4 separate regions of the Homo sapiens genome follow, and all the other regions are linked to region 4. The links are contacts of gene promoters, found by promoter capture Hi-C in blood cells and fetal thymus (Javierre and others, 2016). All regions are on one chromosome and are shown on one strand. Each heading gives the region's core, a stretch centred on a gene start or on the middle of the fragment in contact. The rest is flanking DNA. Distances are from core to core; before and after follow the strand shown. Region 1 overlaps BDP1 (BDP1 general transcription factor IIIB subunit). Region 2 overlaps MCCC2 (methylcrotonyl-CoA carboxylase subunit 2). Region 3 overlaps BDP1 (BDP1 general transcription factor IIIB subunit). Region 4 holds the start of CDK7 (cyclin dependent kinase 7).

The links. Contacts are between HindIII fragments. The CHiCAGO score rates a contact against its expected background, and 5 or more counts as called.
Region 1: a contact is called between a fragment that was not itself captured here and the fragment with the promoter of CDK7 in region 4, in 2 of 17 cell types (fetal thymus and total CD4 T cells). The highest score is 8.4, in fetal thymus.
Region 2: a contact is called between a fragment that was not itself captured here and the fragment with the promoter of CDK7 in region 4, in 3 of 17 cell types (non-activated CD4 T cells, total CD4 T cells and activated CD4 T cells). The highest score is 10.5, in non-activated CD4 T cells.
Region 3: a fragment that was not itself captured here is called in contact with the fragment with the promoter of CDK7 in region 4 in 1 of 17 cell types (total CD4 T cells); the score reaches 6.1 in total CD4 T cells.

Annotation. Positions count from the first base shown.
Region 1 is chr5:71,485,487-71,491,691 of GRCh38, reverse strand. It overlaps BDP1 (BDP1 general transcription factor IIIB subunit), which reads right to left. Exons shown (of 39, transcript NM_018429.3): 9 at 5,065-5,208; 10 at 2,010-2,288; 11 at 561-708. Among named protein-coding and RNA genes, the nearest start is that of BDP1, 33 kb to the right of the region's middle. The HindIII fragment of the contact is 7,674 bases long and covers 900-6,205 here.
Region 2 is chr5:71,589,288-71,594,996 of GRCh38, reverse strand. It overlaps MCCC2 (methylcrotonyl-CoA carboxylase subunit 2), which reads right to left. Exons shown (of 17, transcript NM_022132.5): 2 at 2,005-2,071. Among named protein-coding and RNA genes, the nearest start is that of MCCC2, 4.8 kb to the right of the region's middle. The HindIII fragment of the contact is 540 bases long and covers 1,919-2,458 here.
Region 3 is chr5:71,464,853-71,471,300 of GRCh38, reverse strand. BDP1 (BDP1 general transcription factor IIIB subunit) reads right to left here. Exons shown (of 39, transcript NM_018429.3): 5 at 5,080-5,205; 6 at 3,814-3,947; 7 at 812-906. Among named protein-coding and RNA genes, the nearest start is that of BDP1, 12 kb to the right of the region's middle. The HindIII fragment of the contact is 5,073 bases long and covers 2,337-6,448 here.
Region 4 is chr5:69,233,593-69,239,453 of GRCh38, reverse strand. CDK7 (cyclin dependent kinase 7) reads right to left here and starts at 4,568. Exons shown (of 12, transcript NM_001799.4): 1 at 4,413-4,568; 2 at 4,001-4,060. The coding sequence starts at 4,478. RefSeq lists enhancers at 2,106-2,606, 4,318-4,846. The HindIII fragment of the contact is 18,686 bases long and covers 1-5,139 here.

The sequences.
Region 1 (6,205 bases), core at 3,487-5,986, 2.3 Mb before region 4:
GCCAAGGGCTGGGAGGCGGAGGAAATAGGAGTTGCTGTTCAATAGGTATAGAGGTGCAGTTATGCAAGGTAAAAAAAAATTCCAGAGATCAGCAATACAACACTGTGCTTATAGTTAACAACACTGTATAGTACACATAAAAAATCTATTGAGGGTAAATCTCATGATTTTATATTACAAAATAAAATTTAAAAACACACACACACACAGCAAGACACATCACATTCAAACTAACGAAAACCAAAAATAGAGAAAATCATTACAGAAAATGATAAACCCATGCAAACGCCAACCAAAAGAAAGCTACAATAGCAAAGTAAACATCAGAAAAAAAGAGCAATACCAGAAGGATAGTACATAATGATAAAGGGAATTTCACCAAGACAAAACAATCCTAGATATGTACACACCTAACAACAGAGCTTCAAAATATATGGAGCAAAAACAAATAGAACTGAAAAAAAGAAACAGGCAAATCCACAGTTACAGATGGAGACTTCAACACTCCTTTCTCAGTAATCAACAGATGTGGATAAAACCAGAAAAGACACAGAAAATACCTTAATGAAAGGATGGGGTCAGTTCTTTTCTCAACTTTTTCAGTGGAGGCAAAACCCACAATGCCATCTATGTTTTGTGTGCAGGAAAGCATCTGCTCCTTACTGCATTCACCTTCCTTTAGCTCAGGCCTTATAGCCTGACATTTATCTACAAATACAAAATGCATGTTATTCTAAAAAATGACAGCAAAAACATCTTTTTTAGAGCACAAAGGAATTTACCTATAACACTCTTTTCCTACAAAACCTTAAGCAACATTCAAGTCCCTATTTGCAAGGCACACATCTTATTTTTAGACCATAATAAAAACTTAACATATATGAGGATCAGCTCAAGCTTCTTGGGCAATTTGTAGCATCTTCCTTTTATCTTAAATTCTAAGTATTTAAAGTGGCTTATTTTATATGTCAAGTAGGGAAACTAAAAGTTGACTTAACTATTCTTTTGCTCCTTCAGAAGTATACTAATTAGTAACACAGTAATAGCTATCATTTATTAAGTACTTACTAAGCGGCAGGAACCCTTAAGTCCATCAGATGCATTATCTCATTTAATACTTGAAACAATCCTATTAAAATATATTAACATTAACCTCATAGAGAACCCCCTGAGTTCAGAGATCTTAAGTAACTTTCCCAATGCAATACTTAAGCAAGTAAAAAAGCTGGAATTTAAAGCAAGGTCTGTTTGATTTCTAAAACCTGGTTGTGAATCATTAAGCTGTTCTGCATTATACGTAATGACTCCAATAAGCCAAAAAAGAGCATAATATTGAGATGCCTACAAAGCATACTATGTTAGCTACCAGTACTCTTTTATTAAAATCAGATGGGTAAATCTGAACTACAGAAAACATAAATTTTATAGAAAGGTTGTTCTGGTCTGCTCCTACCTTTTCCTTGGTTATCAGCTTTAAATAATCTACATATGAACTCTTAAGGAAAGGGACCAAGACTCCCCCTCAAACTCTTAGCCCTCATCCCCAAGCAACTCATAAGTGGCAATATGTTTGCATTCAAAGAGTAAAAAAGAAAAAGGGAAGGAATACATATTCCACTAGTTCTTTTATAGGAACTAACCCCTTGTGGGTTCACAGAGGTGCTCTGTAGAGGTACAACATGAAAATCTGTGCTTTATTGACAGACATAGCAACATACTTTTAACTCTATATAGATGTGATTTCTAATCATAGTTAATGGGAATGCACAGGAGGTGATACATCTTAGAAACAAACTTTAGAGAACAATCTCCCCACTTTAATTTGTTTAATTTTTTTACATAAACTTTTTTAATTAAAAATAAACAGCGTTAGCACAGTACCATTAGTACAGAACCAATTAATAAGCATCATTAATTGCTATCTAGACAGAAAATTAAGTTACATACCATATTACTGTACATGTCTTCTCAAGTAATATAGAGGCTTTTTAAATATGTAAGAAACTTACTCTTGTGTTTTTCTCCTTTAGAAGGACCCGCCTGAACAGTGGCATTTTCTAAAAGATTGTTTACTCCCAGTTCATTAGCTCCATCTTGCTTCTTCCTCCTTCTTTTCTTTTGATTTAGGTCTACTTCTAATGCAACCTGCTCTGCATCCTCCCTTGATAAGGTCAGAGACTCTTCTTCAACTGTCTGAGCATCCTTCTGAGATCTTTCCGTGTCTGAAATTCTAGAACTCATAGACTCATCTGGATCATTATTCACTCCTTCACAGGCAACTTTTTTCACTGAAAACAAGAGAAATTACTATAAATATTTAAACAACCTAAAGAAAAATTTGTAAAGGTGGGAAAGAGACTCAAAGATGTCCTCTGTATTATTTATTTGTATGAACAAAAAACCTAAAGACAACCTAAAATGTCTAATGGGAAATGACTAAATAATATATAAAAATCCACGGAGCCAATAATAATAATGAGGTAAGATTATATGTAGTCATGTGAAAAATTTCAAAGCATATTGTTGCATTTAAAAAACCAAGCAGAACAAGATACACATAAAATCTCATTTTTATTAAACAAAAACAGTTACATATAGAGATGCTCCTTGACTTACACTGGGTTTCATCCCAATAAACCCATCATAAGTTGAGTATACTGTAAATTGAAAATGCATTTAATACAGGCTGGGCATGGTGGCTCACACCTGTAATCCCAGCACTTTGGGAGGCTGAGGAGGGTGGATCATCTGAGGTCAGCAGTTCGAGACCAGCCTGGCCAACATGGTGAAACCCCATCTCTACCAAAAATACAGAAATTAGCTGGACATGGTGGCAGGCGCCTGTAATCCCAGCTGCTCGGGAGGCTGAGGCAGGAGAATCACTTGAACACGGGAGGCGGAGGTTGCAGTGAGCCAAGATCGCACCATTGCACTCCAGCCTGGGCAACAAGAGCAAAACTCTGGGCTGGGCATGGTGGCTCACGCCTGTAATCCTAGCACTTTGGGAGGCTGACACAGGCAGATCACTTGAGGTCAGGAGCTCAAGACCAGGCTGGCCAACATGGTGAAACCCCGTCTCTACTAAAAATACAAAAATTAGCTGGGTGTGGTGGTACTTGCCTGTAATCCCAGCTACTTGGGAAGCTGAGGCAGGAGAATCGCTTCAACTGGAGAGGTGGAGGCTGCAGTGAGCTGAGATGGCACCATGGCACTCCAGCCTGGGCAACAAGAGCAAAACTCCGTCTCAAAAAAAAAAAAAAGTTCTGGCTGGGCGTGGTGGCTCACACCTGCAATCCCAGTACTTTGGGAGGCCAAGGTGGGCGATCATTTGAGGTCAGGGGTTTAAGACCAGTCTGGCCAATATGATAAAATCCCATCTCTACAAAAAAATTACAAAAATTAGCTGGGCATGGTGGCACATGCCTGTAATTCCAGCTACTCAGGAGGCTGAGGTGAAAGAACTGCTTGAACTCGAGCAGTGAAGGATTCAGTGAGCCGAGATCAGGCCACTGCACTCCAGCCTGGGCAACAAAGTGAGACCCTGTCTCAAAAAAAAAGTTCTTACATTAAGTAAGATACAGTGAGTTACTCATGTTATCACCTGTAACATACAAGAAGATACATAATCTTCTACGATTATGTGTAAGTAAAAAAAAAAGACTACTAAGAATAAAGGTATTTTGTAGTTATCAATACTACTTTTTAAAAGATATGCCCCAGAAGAAGAAATTCTAGCCTAGCTTTGAACAGTAAAGAGTTAATTTTGCAGGCTTGACTGCTATCCTTTGAAAATCCTTCTTATAAGGTTGGCCCTTGGGCCATGTCTCAGAATTTGGTTCTGGGAAGGGTTCCTACCACCCTAACTGATAAGAGTGGCTCACTGTGCCTTAGCTGTACAATGTGGTTTATGCTGAACTGCTTTTCTTTTGAAAATCCGAAATTTTTGTATGTTCCAGGCAGAGGATGCTGAATCCTTAGTCTTCCTAGTGGATAATCGAACCCCGGTGGTGGTCGTGGGGACCCCCAACACAGGCTCTCACCATCCCAGGTTTCAGTTCTGCCTCTGCCACTACACACACTGTGAGTCCTTAGGAAAAAGTGTCTTACGATCTCTGGGGCTGTTTCTTGGTGATTAAAACCAATACAAAGGGCCGGGCACGGTGGCTCACGCCTGTAATCCCAGCACTTTGGGAGGCCGAGGCAGGCATATCATGAGGTCAAGAGATCAAGACCATCCTGGCTAACATGGTGAAACCCCGTCTCTACTAAAAATACAAAAAAAATTAGCCGGGTGTGGTGACGGGCACCTGTAATCCCAGCTACTCGGGAGGCTGAGGCAGGAGAATGGCGTGAACCCGGAAGGCGGAGCTTGCAGTGAGTCGAGATCGTGCCACTGCACTCCAGCCTGGGCAACAGAGCGAAACTCTGTCTCAAAAAAAACAGAAAAAAAGAAAAAAACAACACAAAGGGGGCTAAAATGTAAGCTAGCTAACATATAAGGTTCCCTATAGTTCCGAGCGTCTTCTTTATGTGATTATAGCTAAACATTGTCCTTATAGACCAGAGTTCAAATAGTTAAGAAAACATAAGCCTAAAAATAAAAATACCTACATATATACAATTTCTACCTGTTACAACTCAACATTAGCCTTCAGAAATAAGTTACGCTCAACCAATACAGTCTAGTCACAACCCCAGAAGATTAGAGTTCCTTTTTTTAATCCTAGAATTTTATACCAGATTTGTTTTACAGAGGAAAATGATAATAAATAATCAAACATGAAATACAACACTCCAAATTCTGATGCTCTTTGACTGGCTACAACTATCCTCTATGCTAGAGAGATATCAAATAACCCAATCACGCCAGTTAAAAATTTTAAAAGAAAGCTATTGTTTTGGACCAGATAACTAGTTGATTGAAAAAACATATACTCCCTCCAACTGGATGCTTTGATGATCTTAACTACCTGAGCTACACATGAACTCTCAAAGGCCTGAGGGACAATATTGCAAGTTTATTACTACTAAGTAAACTATCACACTTCCTTTTAAAATCAATACCTTTTACATTTTTCCGTGGTTTGGTGGATTTCTTCTCCTTTAAACTGTGATTTTTAACAGATTTTTGTTTTCTTTTCTCTTCTTCAGCAAGAACTTTCTGAAGCAAATGAGCAAAAAAATCGAAGTCAAAAGGGCGCTTTTCCTCTGTTTAAAGAAAAGGAAAAGAACTTTCAAGTTTTTATTTTTAAAAGCTACTTCTAGCTTTTAAAGTATCATAACATCAAAAGCAAATGGGTTTGTTTATCAGTAGGAGAACAGAAAAACAAATACACAACAGAACACCACTCAGCAACAGAATAGGTTGGTCTTAGCAGGGAAATAGATTAGTTCACATCAGAACACCACTCAGCAACGAAACAAATAAACTAGTTTATTACAAATAATAATTTATTACAAATTTGTAATAATTTGTTTATTGCAAATAAACTAGTTTTAAACAAAACAAAAGGAACAAACTACTGATACATGCAATAATATGAGGGAATCTCAAAAACATACTGAGTGGAAGAAAACAGATACTAGGGTACATACTATATGATACCATGTATAAGATATTCTAGAACACACTAAGCTATCTATGGTGATTAAAATGAAAATAGTGGTTGCCTTGGGCCAGGAGGACAGCATTTGATTGTTCAGAAAGGGACATAATAGACCTTGTGAAGTGATGAAAACATTTCCTCTATTGTTTGGGGTAGTGATTACACAGGCATATTCTTTGTCAAAACTTGAACTACACTTTGAGCTGTGTATAAATATAAATCAATTTTTTTATGGACTGAGAAGTCCTTGAAATGCCTGTTCACCACCATATGCCCTACCTTTATCACAACCATTTCACCATTTACTCTTATAAGTATCAGCAAAGTGGGAAGTAAATGAATTTAATCAGGAACATGCCCACTAAATACCTATCAACAGCATTATATCTGAAAGTAATCAGTGAACACTCCAGGAATGAATCCAGACCAGGAGGCAAATCCTTGCTTGAACTTAAAGTCAATGTAGAGAAAATGGTGCTCTATGCACATAAGCCAAAGACTGGTTTGATTACAAGATAGCCTCAGAAAAGAAGGTATATACTAAAATAAAAAGAATCTCTGGAAACTAAACCCAAATCTGGGATTCCTGAAGACCCTAT
Region 2 (5,709 bases), core at 939-3,438, 2.4 Mb before region 4:
AACCCGGGGGGCCAAGGTTGTAGTGAACTGAGATCGCGCCACTACACCCCAGCCTGAGTGACAGAGCAAGACTCCGTCTCAGTAAAAAAAAAAAAAAAGAGAGAGACTTAAGACAACATCACTCTTTAGCAATTCTGTCTAGAGTGGGGCCTTACAATTTGGAGCAGCTGGTGAATTCTGGTTTTATTAGGAAGAACCAGAAAGAGGGTTATCCTTGATGCAGGCTCACAGAGCACATAATTAAGCTCCCCTGACATTTAATTCTTGGCAAAGCTGTGACAGCCAAGTTTGTCCTTTCCCCCTTCTCCCTACCTCCTTCCCCAGGGAGTCCGGCTCAGTCCTCTACCCTCCTGTGGCCACCAGCCTGCACCACGGTTCCTCAGCATCCACCATCCCCAGCAGGCACCTGATGCCACAGGACTCCTCAACCCTCCATTGAGTCAAACCCACCTCTTTTTTTTTTTTTTTTGAGACGGAATTTCGCTCTGTTACCCAGGCTAGAGTGCAATGGCACCATCTTGGCTCACTGCAACCTCCGCCTCCCAGGTTCAAACAATTCTCCTGCCTCAGCCTCCCGAGTAGGTGGGATTACAAGCATGCGCCACCACACCCAGCTAATTTTGTATTTTTAGTAGAGACAGGGTTTCACCATGTTGCTCAGTCTGGTCTCGAACTCCTGACTTCATGTGATCCGCCCACCTCGGCCTCCCAAAGTGCTGGGATTACAGGCGTGAGCCACTGTGCCTGGCCCCAAAACCCACCATCTTAATGTCTAAGGGGGACAGTGAGTTCACCAAATCAAACTCTCAAAATGGGCATAACAATTGAGTTATCACCCCTAACAAAACACTTTCATTTCAGCAAGAGTTTGAATTCTTTTTCTGGAGACAACACCTTGATCTAAAATGGCTTCAAAAGTATGAATTCCATAGCTGCGTACAGGGGCACAGGTACAGTCTCAGCTACTTGGGAGGCTGAGGCAAGAAGATCACTTGAGCTCCCGACTTCGAGTCCAGCCCGAGCAACAGAGTGAGGAGACCCTGTCTCTAAATAAACTAGTAAATAAGCAATTCTAGACCATACTTTCCAAATCCAGTCTTCTTCACTATTTTTATACTCCTGAGATCCAGTATTTAAACTACTCTAACCTAAATGTAAAATTTTACATTAAAAGTATTATATACAATTTTAAGTATTATATACTTGTTGATAAAAGTTATCTGAAACAGTCTATCAAATATGAAGAATGCTTTCCATCTGAGATTCAGCACTTAGGGAGGAAATATTAAATGCCTACTAAGAAATCACTGGCCAGGTGTGGTGGCTCATACCTGTAATCCCAGCACTTTGGGAGGCCAAGATGAGAGGATCGCTTGAGCCAGGGGTTCAGTCCAGCCTGGCAATAGAGCAAGAACCCATCTCTTAAAAAAAAAATTAATAAAAATTAAAAATAAATTATTTATTCATAAAATTTATGAATTTGAATCTTTACTTTTCCCCCCAAAAGTGGTAGTACTCTATGAAGAGAAAAACTGGCCAAGTAATAGGAAAAATAAAATTAAATGCCTGCATACCAACAAATGCATAGTCTTAAGAGTCAAAAGCTCAGCCAGGAGTAGTGGCTCACGCCTATAATTGCAGCACTTTGGGAGGCCAAGGCAGATGGATCACTTGACATCAGTAGTTCAAGACCAGCCTGGCCAACATGGTGAAACCTTGTCTCTATTTAAAAAATACAAAAATTAGACAGGCATGGAGGCAGGCACCTGTAATCCCAACAACTTGGGAGGCTGAGGCAGGAGAATGGCTTGAACCCAGGAGGCGGAGGTTGCAGTGAGCTGAGATGGCGCCACTGCACTCCAGCCTGGGCAAGAGAGCAAGACTCCATCTCAAAAAAAAAAAAAAAATATCAAAAGCTTAATTCCAGTATTTTTCCTAAAAGCAATAACTATTTTAGGACATCTTAAGTAAAGGCATAAGCTGTGGAATAAATGCTGTGTTTACCTAGTTTTATATGCTCCACTCGTTCATGGAGCTGATTTACTAGTGCTTTCATCTGCTTGTAGTTCTCCTAAAACAGAAATAGAGGAGACAGGGGAGAGAAATATTAGAAAGCAATTCCTTTTTACCAAAATAAAGGTCAAAAAAAAAAAAAAAACAGTGGTCTGTGCCAACTCTGTGTGGCCGCCACACTGGGCCACCCCATCTGTGGCAGCCACGCTGGGCCACTGGATCGTATGGAAAAGATTCACCCCTGCCTGTCTTGTTCAAGCTCTTCTTCACCACCCCACTTGTCCATCTCTCCATATCTTACTCCTCTGTAAGCCTAATTCATGTTTTATCTCATCTTCAACTCTACTTCTGGCCACTCCTACTCAATTTAACATCTTTCTTCCTTAAACACCTTCTGAACTTAAACTGATCTCTATTTGTTTTCCTATTTTAAGGAATATAAGCTTTTTGAAGGTTAGAATACCATCTTATTTTTCCTGTCCCATCAGTCACTATCTGAGATTCCAACCAATGCTTGCTTACTGACAAAGTACACTTAAAAACAAATCCCAGAGGGAGAAAAAGGATCTTATTTTTATTTTTAATTTTGTATTTTTATTTTTTGGGACAGAGTCTCCCTTTGTTGCCCCGGCTGGAGTGCAATGGTGCAATCTCGGCTCACTGCAACCTCCGCCTCCCGAGATCAAGCGATTCTCCTGCCTCAGCCTCCTAAGTAGCTGGGACTACAGGTGTGTGCCACCATGCCCAGCTAATTATTGTATTTTTAATAGAGACCGGGTTTCGCCATGTTGGCCAGGCTGATCTCAAACTCCTTACCTCAAGTGATTTGCCCATCTCGGCCTCCCAAAGTGCTGGGATTACAGGCATGAGCCACCGCACCTGGCCAAGGATCCTATTTTATGTTTTAAAAAGAACAGGCTGAGTGTGGTGGCTTATGTCTGTTATCCCAGAGCTTTGGAAGGCGGAGGCAGGAGCATCGCTTAAGCCCAGGAGTTTGAGACCAGCCTGAGTAACATAGGGAGACTTCCATCTTTACAAAAAGAATAAAAATAAAAAGAATAAAAATTTAAAAATTATCTGGGCATGGTGGTGTGTCCCAGCGACTTGACCAACTAAGGTGGAAGGATCTCTTGAGCCCAGGAGTTTGAAGCTGCAGTGAACTAGGATCGTGCCATTGTACTCCAGCCTGGGTGACAGAGCAAGACTGTTTCAAATAAATAAATAAATTAGTAAAAAGAACAAAACTCGGCCAGCCGTGGTGGCTCACGCCTGTAATCTCAGCACTTTGGGAGGCCGAGGCGGGCAGATCACCTACGGTCGGGAGTTCGAGACCAGCCTGACCAACATGGAGAAAACTCGTCTCTACTAAAAAATACAAAATTAGCCAGGCAAGGTGGTGCTTGCCTGTAATCCCAGCTACTCGGGAGGCTGAGGCAGGAGAATCCCTCGAACCCGGGAGGCGGAGGTTGCAGTGAGCCAAGATTGCATCATTGCACTCCAGCCTGGGCAACAAGAGCAAAACTCCATCTCAAAAAAAAAAAAAAAAAAACAGAACAAAACTCTATGCTGGCATATATACACAAATTAAGTAATACACAAGGAAATATTGACAGTGAGAAGTAGAAAAGAGGTAGAGGGACTAACTTTTCACCCTTCTGTATTTTTAAATTTTGTTTGGTCAGCATATTACTTTAGAACAATACTTAACTAGCTAATTATCTTTGAAATTCAGACTTGGCCCACTAATACATTTTGCTCCCCATGTGATTAGCATCTCTAGTTATTTAGTTCCTTCTGTTTGACAGAACACTAAGCAACTTCCTAACTGTTCAAACTTAGATGAATATTCAGTCTACAGTATATCTCCATTATTTCCTATTTTCTACAGCTCCAAGAGCTCTGAGGGTCATGATTTCTGCTACATTCTCTTGCTCTGCAAAATCCAGAAAATAAAAAACAAGGAAGCAGCATGGTATTAGGGAAAGAACCAGTTGGAGCTAACACAATATACAGAACTTGTCACCCTACAACAGCAGAAAAAAGTATGTAACTTTTCTCAAGTGCACAGGCAACATTCTCCAAGATAGACTACATGTCAGGCCACAAAACAAATCTTAATAAATTTTAAAAGACTGAAATCATACAAAGTATCCTTTTTTTTTTTTTTGAGACGGAGTCTGGCCGTGTCGCCCAGGCTGGAGTGCAGTAGCACAGTCTCAGCTCACTGCAACCTCCGCCTCCCGGGTTCAAGCGACTCTCCTGCCTCACACTCCCAAGTAGCTGGGATTACAGGCGTGCGCCACCATGCCCAGGTAATTTTTTTATTTTTAGTGGAGACAGGGTTTCACCATGTTGGCCAGGCTGGTCTAGAACTCCTGACCTCAGGTGATCCACCAGCCTCGGCCTCCCAAAGCGCTAGGATTACAGGCCTGAGCCACCATGCCTGGCCCAAAAGTATCCTTTCAATCACAATGGAATGAAACTAGAAATCAATGGCAGAAGGATGACTGGAAAATTCACAAATATATGGAAATTAAACAACGTACTTTTAAGCAACCAGTGGGTCAAAGAAGAAAAGCACTGACCCACTGAAGCTGACATTTGCCTCTACAGACTGGGCAACATCTGTGCCAAGCTCAGCCCATCAGACTTAAATCACAGAAGAGCCAGTACTGGCTACAGTTCACCTCCCAGGCAATCCTTTATCAACCAACCTAGCCTCCTTAGGATGAGACTCACTAACCAAGAGGCAGTGTAGTTTAGTGGCAAAACCAAGTTCAACTTTCAGTTTCCCTACTTACTGATACTGCATTTGGCAAATCTTGATCTCTCAGGACGCCAGGTGTTTGTGTTTGTGTGTGTGTGTGTGTGTGTTTTAATCACCTGCGAAACAACATTCTACAACCTAGTAATTTTCTTGTGAAGCTGAGCAACCACAGAGGTTAGTGCCTGACAGTCATAATGAATTGGAGCTGAGCCACTGACAAGTTTCCCACCCCATCTTTTCAACCATAGAACCCACCTAGGTAGAGCTGGGTGAGTGAGAAGCATTATAGAGCAACAGTTAAGACCCTGGACTCAAGAGTTATGAGCCAGACCACCTGGCTTCAAATTCAGGCTCTGTGTTATCTCAGACAAATTTCTTGGACCCTATATACCACAGTTTTCCCATCTATAAAACAGAAATAACAATTGTACCTACTGCACAGGATCATTATGATAAATACATGAGTAAAACCACATAAAGCCTTTAGAAAAATGGTGGGTACACTATAAAATTCCTGCCATTATTATTACTTATTATAGTTGCTTTTATTTGTAATCAGGAAACACAGCTAAACTGGATCATTCATCCCATTCTCCCCCACCCTCATGGACTTGCTTTGTCTAATGTGAGCACACATTAATTTCATCACATGCCAGCAAGGATTTTAAATCCAATTTGTGTTCAGCCTCTTGCTCCTGTGCCTTCGGCCATGAGAAGGGCATGTTTAATTCAGGGCTGCTCTTCAGCCTCAGTCCAGGAATGGGAAGACACATGGAGCAGACCTGAACCTACCCTGCAGTGGAACAGTCACAGCAGCAGCTAACCAAAGGCCACCAACACGAGTGAGAGATTAAGAAACAAAACAAAATCAAGTGAGAGACTAATATTTACTGTTGTGAGTTACTGAGATTTTTTGATTATTTGTTACA
Region 3 (6,448 bases), core at 3,624-6,123, 2.2 Mb before region 4:
CGTGGTGGTGTGCGCCTGTAATCCTAGCTACTAGGGAGGCTGAGGCAGGAGAATCACTTGAATTTAGGAGGCAGAGGTTGCAGTGAGCCGATATCGCACCACTGCACTCCAGCCTGGGCAACAGAGCGAGACTCCATCTCAAAAAAAAAAAAAAAAAAAAAAGCTACCCTTAACCAAAGTACTCTGGTACATTTATCTTCTCTTTTCATTATGTAACTCTTCTTATATCTTAGTTGCAGTGCATTTTTATTGGTACTGCCTCAAATTCATTTTAGAAATGAAGAAGATATAAGAAAATATGAAACTAACATAAAGAAGATTATACCCATATCAGAACTGATAAATATTACTTTTCAATAAAGAGGGATAAATGTAACAAAACCATCATAACAGTTTAAAAAAAAAAAAAGGGCTGGGCACGGTGGCTCTAGCCTGTAATTCTAACACTTTGGGAGGCCAAGATGGGGGGATTAACCTGAGCTCAAGAGTTCGACAGCAGCCTGGGCAACATGGTAAAACCCCGTCTCTACTAAAACAGTAAAAAAATCAGCCGGGCGTGGTGGCAGGTGCCTGTAATACCAGCTATGTGACATGCTGAGGCATGAGAATTGCTTGAACCCGGAGGCAGAGGTTGCAGTGAGCCGAGACTGTGCCACTGCACTCCAGCCTGGGCAACAAAGTGAAACTCTGTCTCAATGAAAAAAAAAAAAAAGATGAACTAAGATTTAAACCAAAGGTAAGCGAATAATACTACTAACATTTGTAATGTTTGGTCTCTTTCCAATCAACAAATGTGATGGGTTTACTTTACCTTAATTTCTATCCTTGCTCTGTGAGGAAAAAGTTGTCCGATCATAGAAAAGTCAGTTCCTACCATGCTGATGGCTAAAAAAAACATATCTGTTTCTGTGAAAATAAAAGATTTAGAATGATTGAAAATTAATTATATCAATATTTCAGAGAAAAGAAATCTTACAGAATTTGACAGTACTTAATTTTACTAGAAAGATCCCCATGCAATACCTAAAAACACCTTATTATAAATAAAAACTTTTCAGTATAAGAAATCGTAGGCTGGGCATGGTGGCTCACACCTATAATCCCAGAACTTTGGGAGGCCAAGGCAGGCAGATCATTTGAGGACAAGAGTTAGAGACCAGGGCCGGTCGCGGTGGTTCACGCCTGTAATCCCAGCACTTTGGGAGGCTGAGGCGGGTGGGTCACCTAAGGTCAGGAGTTTGAGACCAGCCTGACCAACATGGAGAAACCCCGTCTCTACTAAAAATACAAAATTAGCTGGGCATGGTGGCACATGCCTGTAATCCCAGCTATGTGGGAGGCTGAGGCAGGAGAATCGCTTGAACCCGGGAAGCGGAGGTTGCAGTGAGCCGAGATCGTGCCATTGCACTCCAACCTGGGCAACAAAAGTGAAATTCCATCTCAAAAAAAAAAAAAAAAGAGTTTGAGACCAGCCGGGCCAACATGGTGAAACCCTGTCTCTGCTAAAAATAAAAAAAAAATGAGCTGGGCGTGGTGGCGTGCACCTGTAATCCCAGCTACTGGGGAGGCTGAGGCAGAAGAATAGCTTGAACCCGGGAGGCGGAGGTTACAGTGAGCTGAGATGGCGCCACTGCACTCCAGCCTGGGCGAAAGAGCGAGACTCCACCTCAAAAAAAAAGAAAAAGAAATCATACAAAAGCATCTGGAATTTTTTTTTTAAAACATTCATTCTGCCTAGCTGATCTTATTCAAAGTGCTCTGAAGAAAGCTATGAGTCATACTCAGGATAGGGTTACACTACATAGGCAACTAAGATGTGCTAAGTAGTATATAAAGAAAGTAGCTAGAAAAATACACAAGAGGCCACGCACGGTGGCTCACGCTTGTAAATACCAGCACTTTGGGAGGCCGAGGCGGGCAGATCACTTGAGGTCAGGAGTTCCAGACCATCCTGGCCAACATGGTGAAACCCCGTCTCTACTAAAAACACAAAAATTAGCTGGGCATGGTGACATATGCCTGTAATCCCAGCTACTCGGGAGACTGAGGAAGGAGAATCACCTGAACCTAGGAGGTGGCGGCTGCAGTGAGCCAAGATCGCACCACTGCACTCCAGCCTGGGTGACAGAGTGAGACTCGGTCTCAAAAAAAGAAACTACTAACAGAAGTTACACTTCAGGAGAATAGGAATAGGGAAGTGAAAGAAGGGAAGTATAGAATCTTTTTACTCTATATCCTGCTGTTTGAATTTTTCCTCAAAACTACTGTTTTTAAAATAAAAACAATAAGCACCAACATGCAACAGATTTTTAACAGCATATTTATCTATAGAAGCTTTATTATACAATATTATCTGAGGTAGAACATTATTCGCATTAGAAATATTGTATTGTTGGCTGGGCACAGTGGCTCACGCGTGTAATCCCAGCACTTTGGGAGGCTGAGGCAGGCGGATCACCTGAGGTCAGGAGTTCGAGACCAGCCTGGCCAACATGGTGAAACCCCATCTCTACCAAAAACACAAAAATTAGCTGGGCATGGTGGCAGGCGCCTGTAATCCCAGCTGCTCGGGAGGCTGAGGCAGGAGAATCGCTTGAACCCAGGAAGCAGAGGTTGCAGTGAGCCGAGATCGCGCCACCGCACTCCAGCCTAGGCGACAAGAGCGAAACTCCATCTCAAAAAAAAAAAAAAAAGGAAATATTGTATTGTTAATTTTTATTTAAATGGTATTTACTGTAGAGATTTGACAGAGAGGAACATTCCAGCCAAAACGACTATAAAGGTAATTCTTAAAAAATATTTCTTTCAGCAGAACAGTGACTGAAAGAAATTAAAAAAAAAAAAAAATTTCTGGGCTGGGCACAACGACTCACGCCTATAATCTCAACACTTCGGGAGGCAAAGGATCGCTTGAGCCTAGGCATTGGAGACCAGCCTGGGCAACATACTGAGACCTTATTTCTTCAAAAAATCCAAAACACAGGCCAGGTGCGGTGGCTCATGCCTGTAATCCCAGCACTTTGGGAGGCCAAGGTGAGCAGACCACCTGAGGTCAGGAGTTTGAGAGCAGCCTGGCCAACATGATAAAACCCCATCTCTACTAAAAATACAAAAATTAGCTGGGGGTGGTGGCAGATGCCTGTAATCCCAGCTACTTGGGAAGCTGAGGCAGGAGAATCGCTTGAACCCAGGAGGCAGAGGTTGCAGTGAGCCGAGATCGTGCCATTGTACTTCAGCCTGGGCAACAAGAGGGAAACTCCGTCTCAAAAAATAAAAAAATTTTTTTCAAAAAATTAGCTGGGTTTGGTGGCACACGCCTGTAGTGCCAGCTACTCTGGGAGGCTGAGGCAGGAAGATCACATGAGCCCAAGAGTTCAAGGCTGCAGTAAGCTAAGATAGTTTCACTGCACTCCAGCCTCGGCAATCAATCAAGACCCTATCTCTACTTTCTAATTTTTTTTCTTAATTTTTTTGTAGAGATGAGGTCTTGCTTTGTTGCCCAAGTTGGTCTCAAACTCCTGGCCTCAAGTGATCCTCCTGCCTCAACCTCCCAAAGTGCAGGGATTACAGGTGTAAGCCACTGCACCTGGCTGAGACCCAGTTGCTATAAAAAATAAAATTTTTTTGAAGATTTGTAAGACAAAGTCAGAGATACCATTCCATGGAGGGCATAAGATAGAGGTGTCAATAAAATTAGCTGGAATAAAATGGTAGTTTGCATTTTATGTACTTAGGGGAGAACTGATTTAATTCAGAAACAGTCAATTCATTTCAAATAGAGAACTTACACATTTTTAAATGAAAATTAGTTACCTTTATTTGACCATGGTTTAGAGTAATAGTTTTTCCTAAAGCTGGAGTATGTAGTTGTAGAACCGCGCTCAAATATGGGGTCATTTTCTTCAACAACACAAGGGCCTTTTGTTCTTAAAACTTCTACAGTTAAACTGAAATAAACACATTTTTAAATAGATGTATACTAAAAACAAGGAAACAAATAGCAAATGAGATGTAAATAGTTATATTTTGAGGTTTAGCATGGCAATCATATCAAAGGCATAATAATACCTATGTGAAATATGGGTATTTTCCAAGCATCTGCTAAGTTTTACCTACAATGTGATTCCAAGAGGGTAGAAAGAAATGTCAACTCATTTTCAAAATCCATAACAGCAATATAATATTTACAAAACATCTTTGGGCTACGTATTATAAAACGGTATTTGTATTATTGACTTGCACATGTCTTTGATATTCAATATGTATTACTGTGCTGGACTCCATGGAAATTTTGAAAAACACAAGCACTTTATATTTTACATTCCTGCAGAGAAAGCAGTTAAATATGCTCTAACTATTTAATGACCAGTAAAATCATCATCACAAACTAATGGAAAATAGCACACAAAAACAACTATTATTAGCAGTATTACATTTATGTTTAATTATAGAATGTGAATGCTATAAAATTATTTTTCACTGGCTAAACTTTCAAAGACCTTCCATTGCTTTATTTATTTACTTACTAATTTATCATCTTTTAAAAAAAAACCCTTAAGACAACTAAATTCCACAATGCCCAATGTGCAAAATTTAATGTTATAACTGAGAAATTAAACCAAAAGATGAATTATACCTCACCATAACAAAAATCATAAAATATGTTAAACCTACATTTCATTGTATATCCATTAGTTATCACCACACACCAGGATATGCTCTTAATAATATGAGAACTTGAATATTGACTTCAAGACTGTGTCAATCTTAGAAATTTATCCTCAGTGGAAGACAGCATATGATTAGTTCAACAGCCTGACTCAATGACCAGTAAAGATAATAAAACAATGGTGTTAGGTTAATAGATGATAGGGCATCTTCTCATACAAAATAGTTATAAAAATTACTAAAATTTACAAATTAATCTAACCCACTTTTCTATTTACAATATTCATTATGCAAATAAGAACGTCAAGGTCTAAGTGACAAAGGCCAATACAGAAAGAGGACCTCTTTCACTAGACAAAGCATGTTTGTTCTCATGTAACCACAATCTCACTTTTTCTCTTTTCTAAATACCTTTCTTCATCCAAAATAATGGAACCATCTTCTGCCACTTTTACTCGAGGAACCAGTAATGGCCCATCATCTGTCTCTTCTTCCATTTCATTATCTTCAGCATTAGGAGTACTCTTACCTTCTTGCCTACCACATATAAAGATAAGTTAATTCACAAAGGCATGAAAAGTGTGCCTAAATAGTATAAAACTTAAAATAAATGATTACAAACTCAACCTTCTAGCTATTTCCAACTTTCCCTATAATCCAAATGAAAACAGTATGTGTTATTAAGGACGCAATTAGAGGATTTTCTCAAGTTTTATCTCGAGACATTTAGTAAGAAGTCTTATTTTTTTTTTTAGATGGAGTTTCGCCCTGTCACCCAGGCTGGAGTGCAGTGGCATGATCTCGACTTACTGCAACCTCCGCCTCCTGGGTTCACACCATTCTACTGCCTCAGCCTCCCCAGTAGCTGGGATTACAGGCGCGCACCTCCACACCTAGCTAATTTTTGTATTTTTAGTAGAGACGGGTTTTCACGATGTTGGCCAGGCTGGTCTCAAACTCCTGACCTCGTGATCCACCCGCCTCAGCCTCCCAAAGTGCCGGGATTACAGGCGTGAGCCACCGTGCCTGGCCCAAGCAGTCTTTACTCTCTTTTAAAATAAAGAGAAACAGACAGGACATGGTGGTTCAGGCCTGTAATCCTAGCAATTTCAGAGGCCAAGGCAGGAAAATCACTCGAGGCCAGGAGTTGAGATCAGCCTGGGCAACATAGCAAGACCTTACCACTACAAAAAAAATTTAAAAATTAGCCCAGCATGGTGATGCGTGCCTATAGTCCCAGCTACTCAGGAGACTGAGGCAGGAGTATCTCTTGAGGCCAAGAGTTTAATCACACCACTGCACCCCAGCCTAGGTGACAGTGCAAGACCCTATCTGTAAAAATAATAATAATAATAATAATGCTTATAGTTATATAGCATTAGTTTCTAGATTATTTGATTAACTTTTCAGTACAATCCTTCAGGGTTAGTATTTTCATGCTCATTTGAGCCTTAAGGAAAATGGCCAAATGCAGCAGCTCATGCCTGTAATCCTAGTACTTTTGGAGGCTGAGGCGAGAGGATTACTTGAGCTTAGAAGTTCAAGACCACCAGCCTGGGCGACATAGTGAAACCTTATCTCTATGAAAAAAAACTCTTCAAAAACTAAAAACTTTAGGCTGGGCATGGTGGCTTACACCTGTAATCCCAGCACTTTGGGAGGCCGAGGCGGGCCGATCACGAGGTCAAGAGATGGAGACCATCCTGACCAACGTGGTAAAACCCCGTCTCTACTAAAAATACAAAAATTAGCTGGGCATGGTGGCGCACACCCGTAGTCC
Region 4 (5,861 bases), core at 3,319-5,818:
ATTAAAAAAAACAAAAAGTATGAATAAGTCCAATAAATCAATAGGACAAAAAAAGTACGTAATCCAACAGAAAACAGGAGAAAATCTAAGAAGCCAGTAAGTGTAAGAAAAGATGATGAACTTTACCAGTAATCAGAGAAATGTTAATTGAAACAATAAGTACATACCATTTTCAATCTACGTAATTGACAAACGTTTTAAAGTCTGACAATGCAAATGATGTTGAGAATGTGGTGGGACAGTAAACTGGTCCAATCATTCTGGAGAGCAATTTGACCATATCTGGTAAAGCTGATGGTTGTGATACTCTGAAGCATCAATTCATAATTTGTTTCAATTATAGATACATTCTCTAGAGAAACTCAAACCTGCATACAAGATGACTCACAGATGACTATCCAGAGAAGGAATGTATTAAAGGAAAACATTAAAAAGCAGCCTAAATGTTTATCAACGAGAGTTTGGATAGAAAATTTCAGTGTAGTCATATAATGGAATCTAATAATCAACGAGCATGAATCAACTGGATCTACATGTATCATACGATATAGAGGATTTCGGAAATAATGTTGACTCAGAATAACAAGTTGCAGGCTGGGTGTGGTGGCTCAAGCCTGTAATCTCAGCACTTTGGGAGGCCGAGGTGGGCAGATCAGTTGAGGTCAGCAGTTGAGAGGCTGCGGCAGGAGAACTGCTTGAGCCTGGGGAGGTGGAGGTTGCAGTGAGCCGAGATCACGCCACTGCACTCCAGCCTGTGCGACAGAGTGGGACCTTGTCTCAAAAAAAAAAATAAAATAAAAAAAAAAGAATAACAAGTTGCAGAAGAATATGCCAAATATACATATATAGCTTAAAGTATGCAATACTGGCTGAGTACAGGGGCTCACACCTGTAATCTCAGCACTTTGGGAGGCTAAGGTGGAAGGTTCACTTGAGCCCAGGAGTTGAAGACCAGTCTAGTCAACAGAGTGAGACCCTGTCTCTACAAGAAGAACAACAAATTTAGTGGGGCACGGTGGCATGCACCTGTACTCCTAGCTGGTTGGGAGGCTGAAGCAGATGGAATGCTTGAGACCAGGAGGTCAAGGCTTCAGTGAGCTATGATTGTACCACTACACTCCAGCCAGGGAAACACACAGCAAGTTGCTGTCTCAAAAAAAAAAAAAAAGGAAAAAAAAAGTATGCAATACTATATATTGTTTTGAGATACACAGATTTAAGACACACACTGAAAAATGAGATATAACCCAAAAGGCCATCAATAGGTGATTGGTTAAATAAATTGGGAAACAAATTCCACATAATCTTTTTAAAAGGATGAGATACATCAGTATTTCTAAAGTCCAAGACTCAACAGGTGAATGAGTACAGAGTAACTTATTTATTGATTCCTTCCCTTTTTATAAAATTAAACACATCCTAGCAAATGAACGGGAGTAGAAATTATGAGTGTTGGAATAAGGTCTACAACACCAAATCCTCAATGTTCATAGTAGAAAGTATAGACAACGTCTAAAACTGGGGGAGAAAAAACACCTCAAGAAATAGGCCAGGCATAGTGACTCACACGTGTAATCCCAGCAATTAGGGAGGCCTAGGCAAGGACAATCACTTGAGGCCAGGAGACTAGCAGGGGCACCATGCCTGGCTAATTTTTGTATTTTAGTAGAGACAGGGGTTTCGCCATGTTGACCAGGCTGGTCTTGAACTCCTGACCTCAGGTGATCCGCCTGCCTCGAGCTCCCAAAGTGCTGGTATTACAAACATGAGCCACCGCGCCCAGCTGAAAGGCCAATACATTTTTAACAGTGTCTACAAATGTACTAGCCATGGCCCTAGGTACAGTGTGAATGGAATTAAACAGACAATAAACTCATAGATAGGAGGATTTCAAATTTCGACAAATGCCACATCGATGACAGAAATATAGCAAAGCATAGGGAAGGAGGGAGGCATACATGTAGCTGGAATGAACAAAGGCCTCTATGGAGGAGACATTTGAGTGAAGCCTGGATGATAAGGAATCAGCCATGCCATGTTCTAGACGGAAAATATACCAACCAAGAAGCCAGACCAAATGCAATGATCCTGTGATTCTGGGACTGGAATAAATTTAATTTGTACAGGGACAGAAAAGTCAGTGTGGCTATGATATAGTGAACCAGAGACAGAATTAAAAAGATGACTAGGCCAGGCTTGGTGGCATGTGTCTATAGTCCCAGCTACCTTGGAGGCTGGGGTGGAAGGATTACTTTAGTCCAGGAGTTGGTGGCTGCAGTGAGCTATGGCTGTGCCACTGCACTCTAACCCTTCCACCTGGGCGACAGAGTGAGACCTCCTCCTGCCCCGCCACCACAAAAGAAAGAAAGATGAAGAAAGATTCAGTAGAGTTAAGGGTTTTAAAGGGAGTGGCTGTAGTGGTGGATCATAAAACATAAACCAGAAAACACGGACATAAAAAAAGTAAAAAAGTTAAAAAAAAAAAAAAAAAAAAAAAAAGAAGGCCAGGCACAGTGGCTCACACCTGTAATCCCAGCATTTTGGGAGGCCGAAGTGGGTGGATCAACTGAGGTCAGGAGTTCGAGACCAGCCTGGCCGACATGGCGAAACCCTGTCTCTACTAAAAATACAAATATTAGCTGGGCGTGGTGGCAGGTTCCTGTAGTCCCAGCTACTGGAGAGGCTGAGACAGGAGAAGTGCTTGAACCCGGGAGGCAGAGGTTCCAGTGAGCCGAAATCGCACAATTGCACTCCAGCCTGGGCAACAAGCAAAATTCTGTCTCAAAAAAAATAAAAAATAAAATAAAATAAAAAATAAAAAAATTATGGCAGGAATAATTGAGAAGAAGTAGTCAGTCAGGTTTTAAATGAATGCAAGACAGTACTTGGAGGCTGGAAGATGACCAAAAAAAGGGGGAATTAATGTTAAATATGGATAACTTCCAAGGAGTTAGGGTTTTTGAAGCAGGAGAAGCAGATTCAAAGTAGCAACGGTAACAAAAGCAACATCAGGACACCTGGATTTAAATCCCAGCTTCAGCAATCACTAGCTGTGTGATCTTGACAAGTCACCTAGTCACTCAGTCTCAGGTACCTCAAGTATAAAATAGGGTTACTTTTAACCACTTTATAGATTGTTTTGAAGGTTAAAAGAAACAATGTAGGTGAACGTGAGTTATGTAATTATGACCCAAATCTTTTTTTTTTTTTTTTTAAGATGGAGTCTCCCTCTGTCACCAGGCTGGAGCACAGTGGCACCATCTCGGCTCATTACAACCTCCACCTCCCAGGTTCAAGTGATTCTCCTGCCTCAGCCTCCCGAGTAGCTGGGATTACAGACAGGTGCCACCACACCCAGCTAATATTTGTATTTTTAGTAGAGACAGGGTTTCACCATGTTGGCCAGGATGGTCTGGATCTCTTGACCCCAAGTGATCCGCCCACCTCGGCCTCCCAAAGTGCTGGGATTACAGGCGTGAGCCACCGCGGCTGGCCCGACCCAAGTCTTTTGAATGAATATAAGAAGCTACTGAATCCGACCCAGGTCTTTTGAATGAATATAAGAAGCTACTGAACTCATTTTAGACCTCACATCAATGTTGTTCATGCTAGTGAAAGTCTTTCATGGTAAATCCGTACACAGAAAATACAGATACGACACACTGAGTGGATGCAGGTGAGGTATAAACAGTGACCTAGAAAGATCATGGTATCCAATAGTTCTGAGGACCGAAAAGATGGGCAGTACTTGCCCACAACATATGAATTTATGCAGTAAAAATAACATACAGCTTCTTCTTCATTTCAATAGAAATTAAAACGGGTTCAACCCTAGAGTTCCGTTTGGGAACACAAAGCACTAATTAATTATTTTGTCTCTGAAAATGACATGAGTAACTCATTATCAGAGTATGGTCAAGACTAATAAAATGGCTATCAGTCAATTAATAATACAGACATCTTCAAGGAGACTTAAAAACAACATAAAAAGGTAACTCACTTTCTTAATGGCGACAATTTGGTTGGTGTTCTTATCTCTGGCCTTGTAAACGGTGGCAAACTAGAAAGAAAAATAGAAATAACATAAGTTTATGGGAGTTTTTGTGTTTGCCTTTTTGCATTTTTACATTTCGCGAAGCAAAGAGCCCAGAGTTCCTGAGCAGACTCGCGGCGGCTGGAAACGTGGCGGGTCAGTCTCCGTCCAGCTCCAGGCTACTCTTCAGCAAGGAGAGGCCCCTCAGGGATTCACCCCCAGGATGTAAAGAATGGGCAGCAAGTGCGTCTGGACGGTTTCCCCCAACGAGAACGAGCAGCCAAGCCAGACCTCTGGCCTCCACGGGAAAACCCGCAAAGGTGGAGGCGGCGCGGGGCTGTCCGCTTGGGGCCCTCCCCGTCCTTCCAGAGAGCCTCACCTGTCCCTCCCCAAGGAAGTCCAGCTTCTCATAACGCTTTGCCCGAGACTTCACGTCCAGAGCCATCCGGCGCCGTAAAGCCCGACTCCAGCCGAAAAGGGCGAGCTCCCAGGACAACACGAATTTAAAGCTACCTTAAAGCCTCCAACACCCACTTCCGTCCACCGGGCTCCGTCGCTTTAGTATCCCCGCCTCACTTCCGTGGTGGGCGGAGGAAGCTGCGCTAGGCCCAGGCGGTTGGCGTTCCCCACCCGTCACGTGACGCCTGTCGGTGCCTGAAGTGGGGCATCTTCAATGGCTGCTGTGTCACTCTGTTGCCGTTTTAACTTGGGTGTTTTCTACATTACCAGGAACTGGTCAGCGTTCTAATTTGGTGTTCCATGTTCGGGGTTTGGTAGGTGTCTGTGAATGTAGAAAGTTTGGCCTTGTACCTGTTCTCGCTTTTTGGTTCTTGCTCGAGCGCGTCCTGTCGCCGTGGTTGCTATGGACGCCAAACCCTGCTATCTCAGATTACTGAGACGAGTGCCAAGTTCTTACGGGCTGGTCAAGAGTATTCTTAGTCCAGTCCCTTTATGAAGAAGCAGGCCCAGGAAAACAAAATCCAACTCAACTGAAACGTGCTGTGGGAATCAGCTTCTAGTCCTCAGTTTTCTACTCGGTAAAATGGAAAAAATAATGAACTACATCACAGGAGATTGTGGGTATTAAATGAAACATGCAGAAAGCTTAGACATTAACTCAATTAATTGAGACAGTGCTCAATTAACTTAGCAGTAATGAGTACCCAACCCCTTGATTATCATAAATTGTCATAACAAACACACTAATTCATTTATTCAAAAACATATTGAGTGCTTTTCCTTTTTCATTTTTCTCTCTCTTAGGATGCTGATATTGAGTGTTATCTATGTGCCAAGCACCATTGTAGAATCTGAGATAGCAGGGAGCAAAGATCCCTGCCTTCCAATGGGAGGAGATAAAAAAACAAGTCAAATATGTGTTATGATACATAGGTGATAAGTGCTATAGAGATAATAAAGCAGATAAAGGATAACAAATCAGGGCAGGGGCAGGGATGGAGGTTTTAAATAGGGTGGTACAAGAAAGTCATCACTGAAAACCCACTGGAGGGATTGGAGCAGACAAGTGATATGACCTGACTCACTTTTAAAAGGTTCACTCTTGCTGTTGGGAGACTATATTATAGATTTTGAGGGACAAGAAAAAGAAAGAAGGCCTATTAGAGAACTATTGCAGTAATCCAGATGGCTCTACTAGTGGATAATTAAAAGTTTCTGAGCCAGAGCAGCTGTCAACATGGAAATGTGCCCCCCTCCCCCTGCCTTTGTTTGTTTGTTTGTTTTTGAGACAGTCTCACTCTGTTGCTCAGGCTGGAGTACGCTGGCCCGATCTGAGCTCACTGCAACCTCTGCCTCCTGGGTTCAAGCG